Linked DNA regions of Homo sapiens: region 2 is linked to region 1. Evidence: promoter capture Hi-C in 16 types of primary human blood cells and fetal thymus (Javierre and others, 2016). All regions are on one chromosome and are shown on one strand. The core of a region is centred on a gene start or on the middle of the fragment in contact, and the rest is flanking DNA. Distances in the headings are between cores, read along the strand shown.

The links. Contacts are between HindIII fragments. The CHiCAGO score rates a contact against its expected background, and 5 or more counts as called.
Region 2: a contact is called between a fragment that was not itself captured here and the fragment with the promoter of GLB1 in region 1, in 2 of 17 cell types (erythroblasts and M2 macrophages). The highest score is 6.7, in erythroblasts.

The regions. Positions count from the first base shown.
Region 1 is chr3:33,095,564-33,102,530 of GRCh38, forward strand. GLB1 (galactosidase beta 1) reads right to left here and starts at 1,583. Exons shown (of 16, transcript NM_000404.4): 1 at 1,448-1,583. The coding sequence starts at 1,522. TMPPE (transmembrane protein with metallophosphoesterase domain) reads right to left here and starts at 1,583. Exons shown (of 2, transcript NM_001039770.3): 1 at 1,156-1,583. RefSeq lists a silencer at 1,171-1,780. The HindIII fragment of the contact is 8,101 bases long and covers 1-3,112 here.
Region 2 is chr3:32,710,705-32,718,169 of GRCh38, forward strand. It overlaps CNOT10 (CCR4-NOT transcription complex subunit 10), which reads left to right. Exons shown (of 19, transcript NM_015442.3): 5 at 2,523-2,665; 6 at 5,521-5,607; 7 at 6,450-6,533. Among named protein-coding and RNA genes, the nearest start is that of CNOT10-AS1, 23 kb to the right of the region's middle. The HindIII fragment of the contact is 158 bases long and covers 2,435-2,592 here.

The DNA.
Region 1 (6,967 bases), core at 333-2,832:
GGTGATGCCAGCCTCCCTGTGTGGGCCTCAGGTATGGCAGCCACAGGGCATCCACCCTGACCCAATGACGCTGCACAAGACTGATGAGCTCACATCAGACAGATTGACCCTGTCCACCTGTTCCTGGTTCATAAATCCTTCTCTCTCTCCCTACCCCCACTCCCAGATACTGGTTAAGATCTGCCTTTCCCCTAGCCCCTTACCCTGCCACTGTTCTCCTGAACTGTGCCCCAGTTCCACCTTCCCCAGTGGTTCTCACAGCTGGCTAGCTCTGACTCCTAAGGTCCTACGGGCCTTCTGGACAAGAAAACTCTGTCTACATACTGGGGTAGGGGAACCACAGACGGGGTGAAGAGGGAGCAGCAAATAATCTGTGCTGACTTTTTCCCAAAATGAAAACATTTTCAGCAGCTGTTTTCCAAATACTTAAGATGTTCAATCTTGGTTGTAGATAAATGTACCACTTTTCTCTGCCCTAGGCACGTTATTGAAAGCGTTATTAAAGGGTGTAACTTACAAGTCAACGGTGTCAAATGCTACCAGCTCTTACTTAAAGCATACTGCAGGCTCAGCCCACCTACACCCTGGAGGAACCAAAGTTGGTCCGCGGAACGTGCAGAGGAGCAGCTTGCAACTACCCACTCTCCTTTCCGCAGGTGTGATGCAAACCTCCCCAGGCAGCGCTTTGGAGCCCCTCAGCCAGTCGCCTCAGCTCGGACGCAGCGAGTGAAGCTGTCCTTCCTCTCCCACCAACTGTGCACGCCCCGCACCTCACCTATTCGCCTCGCCAGCCCTGCCCCGATCAACGATGGCATCCCCCGGCAGCCTGCCTATTCCCCCCCTCAACCTGGACCCCCAAACGCCGAAGGAAAACGGTCCCACAAATACAAAGAAAAACCCAAGCCAAAGGGCAGGCGACGGGGAGTGGTGAGAAAGGAACAAGATGCACGAAGAGGGAGAGCACCCAGAGGGGAAATAACCCAATGTTCCCACTGCAAGGGCCTCTCCTGACCCCATTTTTCTCCTTCCGGAGCGCTCCGCAGAGCACCAACTGGGAAAGCGAGGGCGCCCCAAACCAGAGCCGGAGGCACCCTCTAACCCGCGCAACTTGGAATCCCCTCCCGGAAAGCCAACTTAGGAAATGTTTACACGCACCTCGTCTCAACACCTCGTTACAGATGGGGAAGTGGATCCAAGCGCAAAGGGCGGCCGGAGCGGAACGCACAAGCGACCGAGCTGCCTGGAAGGACGCGCGCCCCGCCCGGCCCGCCCCCGACGGGAAGGCCGGTCCACTGCCTGCGTTCCGCCGGCCGCGAGCCTGCTGGGGGGCACTTCGGGGCTCAGGCTCCCCGCCCTGCGGGACCGCGGGTGGCTGCGACCCCAGCCCGGTTCCCCGCCAGCCTGTCCCCTAGCAATGCCTCCCCGTACCCGGGTCCCGCAGACTTACGCGCAAGCCGCGCGTAGGGCCCAGAAGCAGCAGAACCAGCAACAGAGGGAGGATGCGAACCAGGAACCCCGGCATGACCACCAGCCTCCCGGCTCTGCAGTCGGCGCCCAGGCCGGCCGCTTCGCGTCACTTGACTAAGGACCCACGGCCTGGCACCGCCCCTCGTCGGCCCAGCAGCCAGCCCTCGCGCCTGCTCAGCCCCGCGCCCCGCCCCGCTGTGGCCGAGCCGGGCGGGTGGGGGCGGCTAGGAGGCTGCGCGCCGCCGCGTGACTCCAGGATAGTACTATCTGGGTTTTGCAGGCGTCTTCCCTGGGAAGGGACCCTTTGGAACTGCAGTCCGGAGGGCCTGCTTTCAGCAGCTTGATAACGCGCCTCGGGGATTGGACATGAATCATGGTCTCCCTGTTCCCTGGCTGCCTTGAGAGAGCAGAAGAGGGAAATTGTTAATCATTAAACCTAAACGCCCTAGATGGAATCCGCGTCTCATATACGGGCTCTTTGAATAACTCTAAGCCGGGGGTTAGCAAAATGTGGTCGGTCCCTGGAGCCACTGTATCAACTCACCTGGAACTTGTTAGAATGAAAATCCTGCTCACGCCTGTAATCCCAGCACTTTGGGAGGCCGAGGCGGGCGGATCGCCTGAGGTCAGGAGTTCCAGACCAGCCTGACCAGTATGATGAAACCCCGTCTCTACTAAAAATACAAAAATTAGCCGGGCGTGGTGGCAGGCGCCTGTAATCCCAGCTACTGAGGAGGCTGAGACAGGAGAATCGCTTGAACCCGGGAGGTGGAGGTTGCAGTAAACCGAGATCGAGCCATTGCGCTCCAGCCTGGGCAATAAGAGCGAAATTCCGTATCAAAAAAAAATTTTCTTTTTTAAAATAACCTTAGTTTATGCCTTGGTGTTCCAAAAAGCCTTTTTACATTGTATAACAAAGTAGCCAAAATTCTATTTGTTCACTCCTTTCTCCTTTCCTACCGGACATGTCCTTGAGAGATTGAGAAAGTATCAGAAAGGACATTTCATTGAGAGATTGAGAAAGTATCAGTTACTGGCTTTTCTTAGGTTTTTGTTTTTTGGTTTGGGGGGTTGTTTTTTTGTTTTGTTTTTGTGTTTTTTGAGACAGGGTCTCACTCTGTCACCCAGGCTGGAGTGGGGCGCAATCACGGCTTACTGCAGCTTTGGCCTCCTGGGCTCAAGCAATTCTCCCGTCTCAGCCTACCAAGTGGCTGGGACTACAGGCGTGCGCCACCACACCCGGCTAATTTTTGTATTTTTTGTAGAGACAGGGTCTCACCACGTTTCCCAGGCAGGTCTTGAAGTTCTGGGATCAAGCAATCTACCTGCCTGGAACTCCCAAAATGCTGGAATTACAGACATGAGCCACCGTGCCTGGCTTCTTTTCATGCCTGTAGTACCAATTCCGTGTCCTTGCACTGTGAAGTCCTTTCCAAGCTCTGCAATTCTAGTTCAGTATTAAAGAACAAGGGCTCTGGAGGAAGTACACTTGAGTTGGAATTCCAGCTCTGCCACTTACTGTCTGTGTAACTGTGGGCAAATTACTTAACCTCTCTGAGCTTAGTTTCTTTGTTGGTAAAGCAGGGCTAATAATATCAAATTCACTGGATAATTGGGGAAATTACCAGAGATGATGACGATAAGAAGCTTGGTATATACAGGATGTTAGTGGGACAGTTGATGAAATCAGAATTAGACTTGTAGGTTAGATTAGTACCATGCATCAATGTTAATTTCCTTTTTGGGGGGGTGGGGGGACAGAGTCTCACTCTGTCACCCAGGCTGGAGTGCAGTGGCACAATCTCGGCTCACTGCAACCTCCGCCTCCCAGGTTCAAGTGATTCTCCCACCTCAGCCTCCAAAGTAGCTGGGATTACAGGCACCCACCACTAGGCTTGGCTAATTTTTGTATTTTTAGTAGAGATGGGGTATCACCATGTTAGCCAGGCTGGTCTGGAGCTCTTGACCTCAAGTGATTTGCCCACCTCGGCCTCCCAAAGTGCTGGGATTACAGGCATGAGCCACTGTGCCCGGCCGCATCAATGTTAACTTTCTGATTTTGATAATGGTACACGGTCTAAATATTAAATAATAGTTTTGTATTAGTGTATTGATTTGGGTAACGGTAATGGTAATTTTGGTAATGGTTATATAAAAGAACATCCTTGTTTTTTAGGAAACAAAAGGGCATCATCTTTGCAACTGATTCTCAAACAGTTCACAAAAAAAAATGGAGAGAGAGAGAAAGAGAGAGAGAGAGAGGGAGAGAAATGGTATTCCAGGCATGAAAAGAACGTGAGAAAGAAAAGCAAATGTGGTAAAATGTTAACATTTGGAAAATCAATGAAGGAATTATTTTTACTCTTTTTTTCAACTTTTTGTTTCTAAGCCTGAAATTATTGCAGAACGAAGTTTAAAAACAAAACAAAACAAAAATCCTTAACACATGGCAGATTCAACTTCTTCTACCTTCTTTCCTACTCTGTACACTCAGGGTTATCATATGCAATAGGTATTTTTAACTGAACTGAGGTAGAAAGGGTTTAGAGCAGGAGTTGGCAAACTAAGGGCAGAGGATCAAATCTGGCCTGCTGCCTGTTTTTCTTTTTCTTTTTAAAATTCTTTTTACTAAGAATCGGCACAATTTGCTGCCAGTTTTTCTATGGCCTGCCACCTAAAAATGGTTTTTACATTTTTAAATGAATGAAAAAAAATCAAAAGAATAATATTTTATGACATTTGAAAATGTTGTAAGTTTCCTGTGTCAGTGTCCATAAATAAAGTTTTGTGGGGTTGGTTTTTGTTTTTTTTGTTTTGTTTTGTTTTTTTAGACACAGTCTTGCTCTGTCACCCAGGCTGGAGTGCAGTGGTGCAATCATAGCTCACAGCAGCCTTGAACTCCTGAGCTGAAGCAGTCGTCCCATGTCGGCCTCCTGAGTAGCTAAGTAGCTGGGACTACAGGCGAGTGCCACCATGCCTGAATAATTTTTTTTTTTCTAAAGACAAGATCTTGCCTTGTTGCCAGGGTTGGTCTTGAACTCCTGGCCTCAAGTAATCTGCCCACTTTGGCTGCCAAAGTGCCAAGATTACACATAAATAGTTTTCTTAGAACACAGCCACCTATAATCCTCTGCATATTGCATATGGTTGCTTTCACGCTACAACGGTAGAATGGAGTAGTTGCAACACAGATCTTAGGACCTACAAAACTGAATATATTTATGTTCTAGCCCTTTACAGTATAAGCTTGCCAAAGGAATATAGATTGTAGATTGTTTCTGAGATTTTTAGTATTTGACTATGTTTGTAGTTGAAATGGCAATAGTAGTAATAGCCATTGTTGTGCTGAATGCTTTACCAGTATGTGTCACTATTCCTCCCAATCCGAGCTGCATGCTCTTATCCACATTTCACAGATGAGAAAGCTGAGACCCAGAGGAGTTAAATGACTTGCCAGTAGCCACAGAGCTGGGGAGCAGTAGAGTCTCTAAAGTTACATTGCCTGACGTTAGGGCCTGAGTTATTTTCACAAGGCTATGCTTCTGCTCATAGTGTACTGTTTGGTTCCCATTTAAATGCACAGACAGAGTGTGCTGGATGCAAAGCCCCCTGCATACTGGAGAATATGAAGGGACCATGAGAAGGCTGTCACCCTGCAGGCACTCATCTCTAAACATGGTACATGCTCTAATATAGACTAATACTTCTCAGAGTCTGATCCTTAGACCAGTGCTGTGCAATAAGTACAGAAATTCAGCCTAGGCACTTAGAAACTTGCAGCAATTTGAGAAAGTAAGTCTATCTGTTGAATCTAATAATGAACAAAATCATTACGCATCTATTTTTATTTCATTGTTCTAGTAATGTTTTATTTTTATTTTTTTAGACAGAGTTTCGCTTTTATTGCCCAGGCTGGAGTGCAATGGCACGATCTTGGCTCACTGCAACCTCTGCCTCCTGGATTCAAGCGATTCTCCTGCCTCAGCCTCCTGAGTAGCTGGGATTACAGGCATGTGCCACCATGCCCCGCTACTTTTATATTTTCAGTAGAGATGGGGTTTCTCCATGTTGGTCAGGCTGGTCTCAAACTCCTGACCTCAGGTGATCCACCTGCCTCGGCCTCCCAAAGTGCTGGGATTACAGGCGTGAGCCACCACGCCTGGCCTCTAGTAGTTTTTGTTTGTTTGTTTTTGAGACAGAGTTTCACTTTGTCGCCCAGACTGGAGCGCAGTGGCATGATCTTGGCTCACTGCAACCTCCACCTCCTGGGTTCTCGCAATTAAACCTCGGCCTCCTGAGTAGCTGGGACTACAGGCTCACACCACCATGCCAGGCTGATTTTTTCGTATTTTAGTAGAGATGGGGTTTCACCATGTTGCCCAGGCTGGTCTTGAGCTCCTGAGCTCAGGCAATCCACCCCCCTCAGCCTCCCAAAGTGCTAGGATAACAGGTGTGAGCCACCACACCCGGCCTATTTTTCTAATAATTTATTTTTATTGAATTTTTATGAAAGGATCAATCCTTGATAGGCAGGAAAGAGCACTAATAATTAAAAAAAAAAAAAAAAAGTCCGGCCGCGGTGGCTCACACTTGTAATCCCAGCACTTTGGGAGACTGAGGCGGGGGGATCATGAGGTCAGGAGATGGAGACCATCCTGGCTAACATGGTGAAACCCCGTCTCTACTAAAAATACAAAAAATTAGCCGGGCGTGGTGGCGGGCGCCTGTAGTCCCAACTACTCGGGAGGCTGAGGCAGGAGAATGGCGTGGAACCCGGGAGGCGGAGCTTGCAGTGAGGTGAGATTGCGCCACTGCACTCCAGCCTGGGCGACAGAGCGAGAATCTGTCTCAAAAACAAAACAAAACAAAACAAACAAACAAAAAAACACAACTCATCCTTTACCAAAAATAGTTTGAGAAGCACAGAGGCCTCATCAGTAGCATAAGAACAATGAGAGGGAGAAAAACGTGTGGCCCCAAAACATAGGAAAGCTTTGTTTTTCTGTTCTAACAGGGCTCTACACACAAGTTAATCATCAAACTCAGTTTCTTTGATCTGTTTTCCCTTATGGAGTTTTCCTACTCAGCAAATTTTCATTCCCAGTGTCAGTTCTGACCTGCATTTCAATAAAAAATTTTATGTAACCTACCTTCCTTCCTTTCTTCCCTCCTTCCTTCCTTCCCTCCTTCTTTTCTTTTTCTTTCTTTCCTTCTTTCTTTTCTTTTTCTTTCTTTCTTTCCTTCTTTCTTTTCTTTTTCTTTCTCTCTCTCTCTCTTCTCTCTCCCTTTCTTTCTTCTTTCTTTCTCTCTCTTTCTTTCTCTTTTCTCTCTCTCTCTCTTTTCTTTCTTGTCTCACTTTGTTGCCCAGGCTGGAGTGCAGTGGCGTGATCATGGCTCACTGCAGCCTTGAACTCCAGGTCTCAGGTGATCCTCCCACCTCAGCCTCCTGAGTAGTTGAGACTACAGGCACAGGCCACCATGTCTGGCAAATTTTTCTTTT
Region 2 (7,465 bases), core at 1,264-3,763, 380 kb before region 1:
AACTACTCAGCTTCTTTCTTCTTTTTTTCTTTTTGAGATGGGGTCTCTTTCTGTTGCCCAGGCTGGAGTGCAGTGGCGTGAACTCCACTCACTGCAACCTCCACCTGCCAGGCCCAAGCGATCCTCCCACCCCAGCCTCTTCAATAGCTGGGATTACAGTCACGCGCCACCACACCCAGCTAATTTTTGTATTGTTTTGCAGAGACTGGGTTTCACTATGTTGCCTAGGCTGGTCTTGAACTCCTGGGCTCAAGCCCAGCACCTTGGCTTCCCAATGTGCTGGGATTACAGGTGTGAACCACCATGCCTAGCCAGTACTCAGATTCTTCATACAACATATGCTAATTGAGCACATGGTCCAATACTGTGGGCCAGACACTGTTCTGGGTCTGGAGATAATGCAATGAATGAAATACAGAAACTCTTTACCCCCGTTAAGCTTCTATTCTAATAGGAGAGAAAGCAACATAATAAAAAAACAGCCATCCCTTGGTATTCAAGGGAGATTGGTTCTAGGACACCCCTCTTCAGATACCAAAATCTGCTGATACTTAAATCCCTTATATAAAATGGTGTAGTATTTACATACAGTCTCTGTGTATGTCCTCCTGTACATTTTAAATAATCGCTAAATTACTTATAATACCTAATACACTGTAAATGCTATGAAAATGTTTTTATACCATATTGTTTAGGGAACAATGATGGGGAAAACGTCTGTACATATTCAGTGCAGATGCAACAACTTTTTTTTTTCTTCTAACATTTTCAATCTGAGGTTGGTTGAATCTGTGGGTGCAGGTCAGATACAGGGGGCTGGCTGTATACTGAATGCTATGAAGTAAAGCTAAAATTGAGTGAGAATGTAGAGATTGACTGGGGATGTTTTAAGTAAGGTAATCAAGCAAGGCCTGGGATGAGATGGTATTTGAAACGAGACCTGAATAAAGAAAAGACATTATCCTTGCTACTGTTTAGAGGGAAAGCATTCCCACTGGAGGTAATGGGATATGGAGAAGACTTGAGGTGAGAGGCTGTGTTTGGTGAGAGCAATAGCAGCAAGATCATTGTGACTGGAGCTAGGTAAGGAGGATAATAGGAAATAAAGTCAGAATTAGCCACGGGCAGAAGAGGTAAAGCCTAGGGCAGGGCTTACTGTCTTAGGTGCAGTGAGATTCCCTTGGAGATATATGACCTTTGCACACCAGCTGTGTTAATTTCAGTTTTTTAAATGAATTCCACTCTTTAAAGGCTTTTGAAATTTTCTCTTCTAGACCTTATTTTTCCTTTTATCTTCTTTTTTGAAAGGAAAGATAGTTTTATGTCACACCAGGTTAACTTTCCTCTCTTCATTGGGTTCTTTTTCTTTTGAAGGTCTTGTCTCTTGGCAGTCTCAATTTTCTGATATACTCCAGCCCATACCTTGCTGCTTTTGCTTCTGTAATCAGGTGTTTGTTTGTTTTTTTTTTTTTTCCATCTCCATGACCTAGAAAAGCAATGTATTTCATGGAGTCATAGACTTTTTTAGTTAGAAGGAACCTCACAAGATCCCCTGGTCCACCCTTCTGCCTTCAGGCAGGTAAAATATTCTCCTCATTTGACAGGTCAGCCAGCTGAGGTCTGAAAAGTTAAATGATGTACAGAGACCACACATACCTAGTTAGTGGCTGAATAGGTGCAGATTGAGTATCCCTTATCCAAAATGCTTGGGACAAGAAGTGTTTCAGATTTGGGATTTTTTTTAACTTTGGAATATTTGCATTATACTTACTGGTTCAGTATTCCTACCCTGAGGTCCAAAATGCTACCATGAGCATTTTATTTGAGCATCATTGGTGCTCAACAAGTTTTGGATTTTGAGGCTGGACACAGTGGCTCACACCTGTAATCCTATCCTTTGTGAGGCCAAAGTGGGTGGATCACTTGAGCTCAGGAGCTTGAGACCAGCCTGGGCAACATAGTGAAACCCTGTTTCTATGAAAAAATTAGCCAGGCATGGTGACACATGTTTGTGGTCCCAGCTACTCAGGAGGCTAAGGTGAAAGGATCTCTTGAGCCTAGTAGGCAGAGGTTGCAGTAAGCCAAGATTGCAACACTGCACTCCAGCCTGGGTAACACAGTGAGATACCATCTCAGAAACAAAAAAAGTTTTGGATTTTGGAGGATTACAAATTTCAGATTTCAACATTTCAGGTTAGGAATGCACAACCTCTATTGGAATTCAGGTTTCTTTCCGCCTAAAGTAATATTCCTCATTACATGTGCTAGTGTTTAGTAGATATTTTCCTAAGGAAGATTTAATCACTGGAATTTCTGAAATGAGAGGCCTTGCAGTGCCTAGTAAAATGACATTGTTGGCATTGCAAGTTGCTTTCATTCGTGGCTCTAGGTGATAGGCATTCATTTGAGTAAAGACTTATGCTTTGCTATTTAAAGCTTTGTATACTTTTTTGGAGGGTGGTCTGAAATGTGTGCTTTACTTTAGGTTGTGACTATTCTTTTCTGTGTTTTTTTTCTCCCAGAAGAAAAATTTGCCCAAGCAGTGTGTTTTTTGCTTGTAGACCTGTATATATTAACCTACCAAGCTGAGAAAGCTTTGCATCTTCTTGCTGTCCTAGAAAAAATGATTTCACAGGGTAACAATAACAAAAATGGAAAGAATGAGGTGAGTCTTTAGAGGTGATCAGACTAAAATCTAAAATGTGATTAATTCTCTCTACTTGTTGGTTTACTGGATTAAAAAGAAAGCAATTAAAATATGATTAATGTTTGTGGTTATGAACTATTAACAGCTTAAAGATACAATTTTCATATTATAAGCTTTACCATTTTAAAGTGTAGAGTTTAGTGGTTTTGAGTGTACTCACATTTGTACAACCATTACTACTATCTAATTTCAAAATATTTTTATCACCCCAAAAAGAAACCCTGTACCATTTGCAGTCACTCCCCATTTCCCCCTTTCCTCAGCCCCAAGCAGCCGTTAATCTAATTACTGTCTCTGAATTTACTGTCTGGACATTACATATGAATGGAATCATAATATGCGGCTATTTGTCACTGGCTTTTTTTACTTAGTGTAATGCTTTCAAGCTTCATCCATATTTTAGCATATACTTATTTTTGTTTCATGTACTTCATGCCTTTTGTGGCTGAATAATATTCCATTCATTATATGAATATGCCACATTTTAAAAAATTCTTTATCAGTTGGTGGACATTTGGGTTCTTTTCTACTTTTTGGTTATTATATATAGTGCTTCTGTGACCATTCATGTACAAATTTTTGTGTGGATATATGTTTTCAGTTACATTGGATATAATATTTAGGAATAGAATCACTGGGTTATATGGTATCTTAACTCTATATTTAACCCTATACAAGACTGTTTTACAAAGTGGCTGCACTATTTTAAATTCCCACCGGCCACTTGTGAGGTTGTAATTTCTCCACATTGTTACCAACACTTGTTATTGTCTATCTTTAAAAAAAAATTAGCTATCTTAGGGGGTGTGAAGTGGTATCTTGTTACAGTTTTGATTTTTATTTTCCTAATGACTAAGGATGTACATTGAGCATCTTTTCATATATGAGCTATTATTTTTATAGAATTGAAAGATTGGAATTAAGACAATAGAATCCATAACCTGGATAAACACTATTGCTTTCATTAGGGAAAATTTCATCATTAAAGTTCTTCAAAAAAAAAAAAAAAATACATGGCTGGGCGTGGTAGCTCACACCTGTAATCCCAGCACTTTGAGAGTCCAAGGCGGGTGGATCACCTGAGGTCAGGAGTTAGAGACCAGCCTGGCCAACATGGTGAAACCGTGTCTTTACTAAAAATACAAAAAATAGCTGGGCATGGTGGCACACAACTGTAATTCCAACTACTCAGGAGGTTGAGGCACGAGAATCACTTGAAACTGGGAGGCGGAGATTGCAGTGAGCCAAGATTACGCCACTGCACTCCAGCCTGGGAGACAGAGCAAGACTCAAACTCAAAAATAAAAAAGCATACATTTATGATGTTTAAGCTTCACCATGTTCTGGTGAGAGACTTGGTGCCCAGTATGAGTATATCCTGGGTCTCATGTTTTTCTTTTATTTGTGCTTCTGGTTATCAAGGGATGACCCTTCTTACTTCCGTTTTCTGTCCCTTTGTTTTAAAAGGAGTATTTGCAGGAAACGTTGCCAATACCTTTTTGCCTGTGTACATTCTTGATGTTTAAAAAGAAAATAAACATCTGGCATTACTTTTTTCAATTTAAGTGTGTATTCATAAGGGATTTCAGTTGAATAACCTTAGCATTATACCGAAACATTGTGTAGTAAAATATTTATATTCAGTACTTGTAAAATTTGATTAAATATAATTTAATTTAGCAGATGCTTATGTGCTCTGCCCGGTTCTAAGGTACTCTGCTAGGTACTAAGGTGACAAAAACAAAAACGTTGCAGTCCTTGCTTTCAAGGATCTCATGTCTAGGAAGAGATAAATTGGGCAACATCTGGTCATGGACAAGGAGGAAAGAGGTGAAAGAGGTTAGGGAATGTTTCAAAGGAATTTGGATGTTTGTTTTGGGCCTTGGAAGATGGTTAATAGTTTGACAAGTCAGACAAGGAGGGGTAGAGCAGGATAACCAGCCTGGCAGAGAATATCACAAAAGGTATGAGCTTAATGGTGTGCTGGAGACCTTTCTGGTAATGAAATGAACAGTACCAGAGAAATGCAGAGGAGAGCAGTGGGAGATGATGTTGGCAATATGAGTGTGAGTGATAGCTTGAAGAACTTTGAATACTAGAAAGTTCAAATTTGATATGATTGGCAGTGTTCATAACAGAGAAAGTTTTAAGAAGTGGGTAGATCTGTTCTGGGTTTTAGAAAGATATTCTGAGTTTTGCTTAAAGTAATATTCATGTTTTTTAAAACAAGCCCAGGCTGGCCACAGTGGAGACCCCCGTCTCTATGAAAAATTAAAATTGTAAATAAATAAAACCAGCTCATTATTACGTTCGACTGTGAGCTTCTCATGAGTAGAGCTTCCTGTCACCCACTCTAGACTACTGAACCTCAGTCTCTAGGAGTGGGACCTGGGATTCTGCATTTTTTAAAGACAGGGTCTTGCTCTGCCACCTCAGGCTGGAGTATAGTAGTAGCACAATCACGCCTCACTGCAGCCTTGATCTCCTGGGCTCAGGCAGTCTTCCCACCTCAGCTTCCTGAGTAGCTGGGACTACAGGTACATGGCCACCATGCCCAGCTAATTTTTGTATTTTTTGTAGAGATGCGATTTTGCCATGTTACTCAAGCTGGTCTCGAACTCCTGGGCTCAAGCGATCCGCCCGCCTCTGCCTTCCAAAGTTCTGGGATTACAGGCATGAACCACCATTTCCCACAAATTCTACATTTTGAAAATGCTCTCTAGGTAATTTAGATTAGCTCACTTGGAAATCACTGATTTAAATTATGGTCAAAAATATTTAATTTTGATAAACTTTGTTTCATCACCCTACAGACTGGTAATAACAACAACAAAGATGGATCTAATCATAAAGCTGAAAGTGGAGCTCTAATAGAAGCTGCAAAATCAAAGATACATCAGGTAGTATAAATTTTAAAGGGGGGCAATACATCACATATATTTAATTGTAGTTATGACAAATGAAGCAATGAGATAGATCATTGGAAGCAGTCAATAATTCAAGGTGCATATATTTGTTTGTCTTTTGAAGTATTGTAGTTTAGAAGCACATTTATCCTAAATACATTTTTCTTAAGAGGATAATATAATTTATTTAAATTGCTCTATAAATAAAGTTTGAGAGAAATGGCACGGGAATGTACTGCATGATAAAATCAACTGGAATTTTAAAAAGTCATTGTTAGCCATGTGCAGAAGAGGATTGATAGGATTTTTGCCCGGAACTTGAGTATTTAAGTTTTTTGTTTGTTTTTTGAGACGGAGCCTCACTCTGTCACCCAAGCTGCAGTGCAATGGTGCGATCTCGGCTCGCTGCAACCTCTGCCTCCCAGTTTCAAGCGATTCTCCTGCCTCAGCCTTCCTGAGTAGCTGGGATTACTAGTGCGCATCACCACACCCGGATAATTTTTTGTATTTTTAGTAGAGACAGGGTTTCATCATGTTGGCCAGGCTGGTCTCAAACTCCTGACCTCAGGTGATCCACCTGCCTCGGCCTCCAAAGTACTGGGATTACAGGCGTGAGCCACCACATCTGGCTAAGTTTTTATTCTACCGTGATTTTAGTATTTTGAAGTATATTCGAAGAGTACAGTGAAAATAGCATATTTTCTAAAATTGTAAACTTGATTTAGCAAGTAATTAGTGTAACTATGTTGTAAATAGATTGGGTTTTCTTAACTAGAAAGTAAAACTGTATGTAAATCCACCATAGTTTTAACATACTAACATTTTCCCTTTGACAGTACAAAGTACGAGCTTATATCCAAATGAAGTCTCTGAAAGCATGTAAAAGGGAAATCAAGTCAGTCATGAATACAGCTGGAAATGTAAGTTTCTTCTGGACTTTTGTTTTTCAATTTGTGTCTTTCTTATTTAGACTATGGGTATTGTCAGGTTTAAATAATTTATCTTAGTCTTTTACATATACTGCCAGATATGAACCTTGCTATTTTAAAGTTGGGAAGTAGTAATAATACTGTGTCTATAGTTTAATTTTTTTTTTTTTACTTAAAATTACAACAAGCACTTTTCTATTTTATGTAACCTTCAAAACCACCATTTTAAATAACTGCCTATTTTTCTGTGACTGGTTTATCACAACTCACTTAAACATTTTGCTAATATTAGACATTTAGGTTATTTTAGAATTTTTTAGTATTATACTCAAAACATTTATGGCCAGGTGGTGACTCACCTGTAATCCCAGCACTTTAGGAGGCCAAGGTGGGCGGATCACCTGAGGTCAGGAGTTCAAGACCAGCCTGGTCAACATGATGAGACCCTGTCTCTACTAAAAATACAAAAATAAGCCGGGTGTGGTGGCGTGTGCCTGTAGTCCCAGCCACTAGGGAGGCTAAAGTGGGAGGATCACTTGAACCTGGGAAGCAGAAGTTGCAGTGAGCTGAGATCGTGTCATTTCACGCTAGCCTGGGCAACAGGGTGAGACCCTGTCAAAAAACATTTTTTAAATAAAAAAAAATTTATTAAAAATCTAACAGTCAAATTATAGCCAAAACCTGCCCCTTCCAAGTGACTTTTGGCTTGACAGTACCTTCGATTTAACTGAGATAGAATTACTTCTTCCTTCCACTCCCTCCACCCTAATCTTTCATTGATAATTTTTAAGATGGTGTAGGAAAGAAACAGAATTGTGAACAATCTTGATGCTTCTAGAAAAACTATAAATTTAGAAGTATAAAGTCATGAGAAAATATGGTTAAAAATCTCAGGCAGGATCCAGATTAGTCACTGAGTTAGT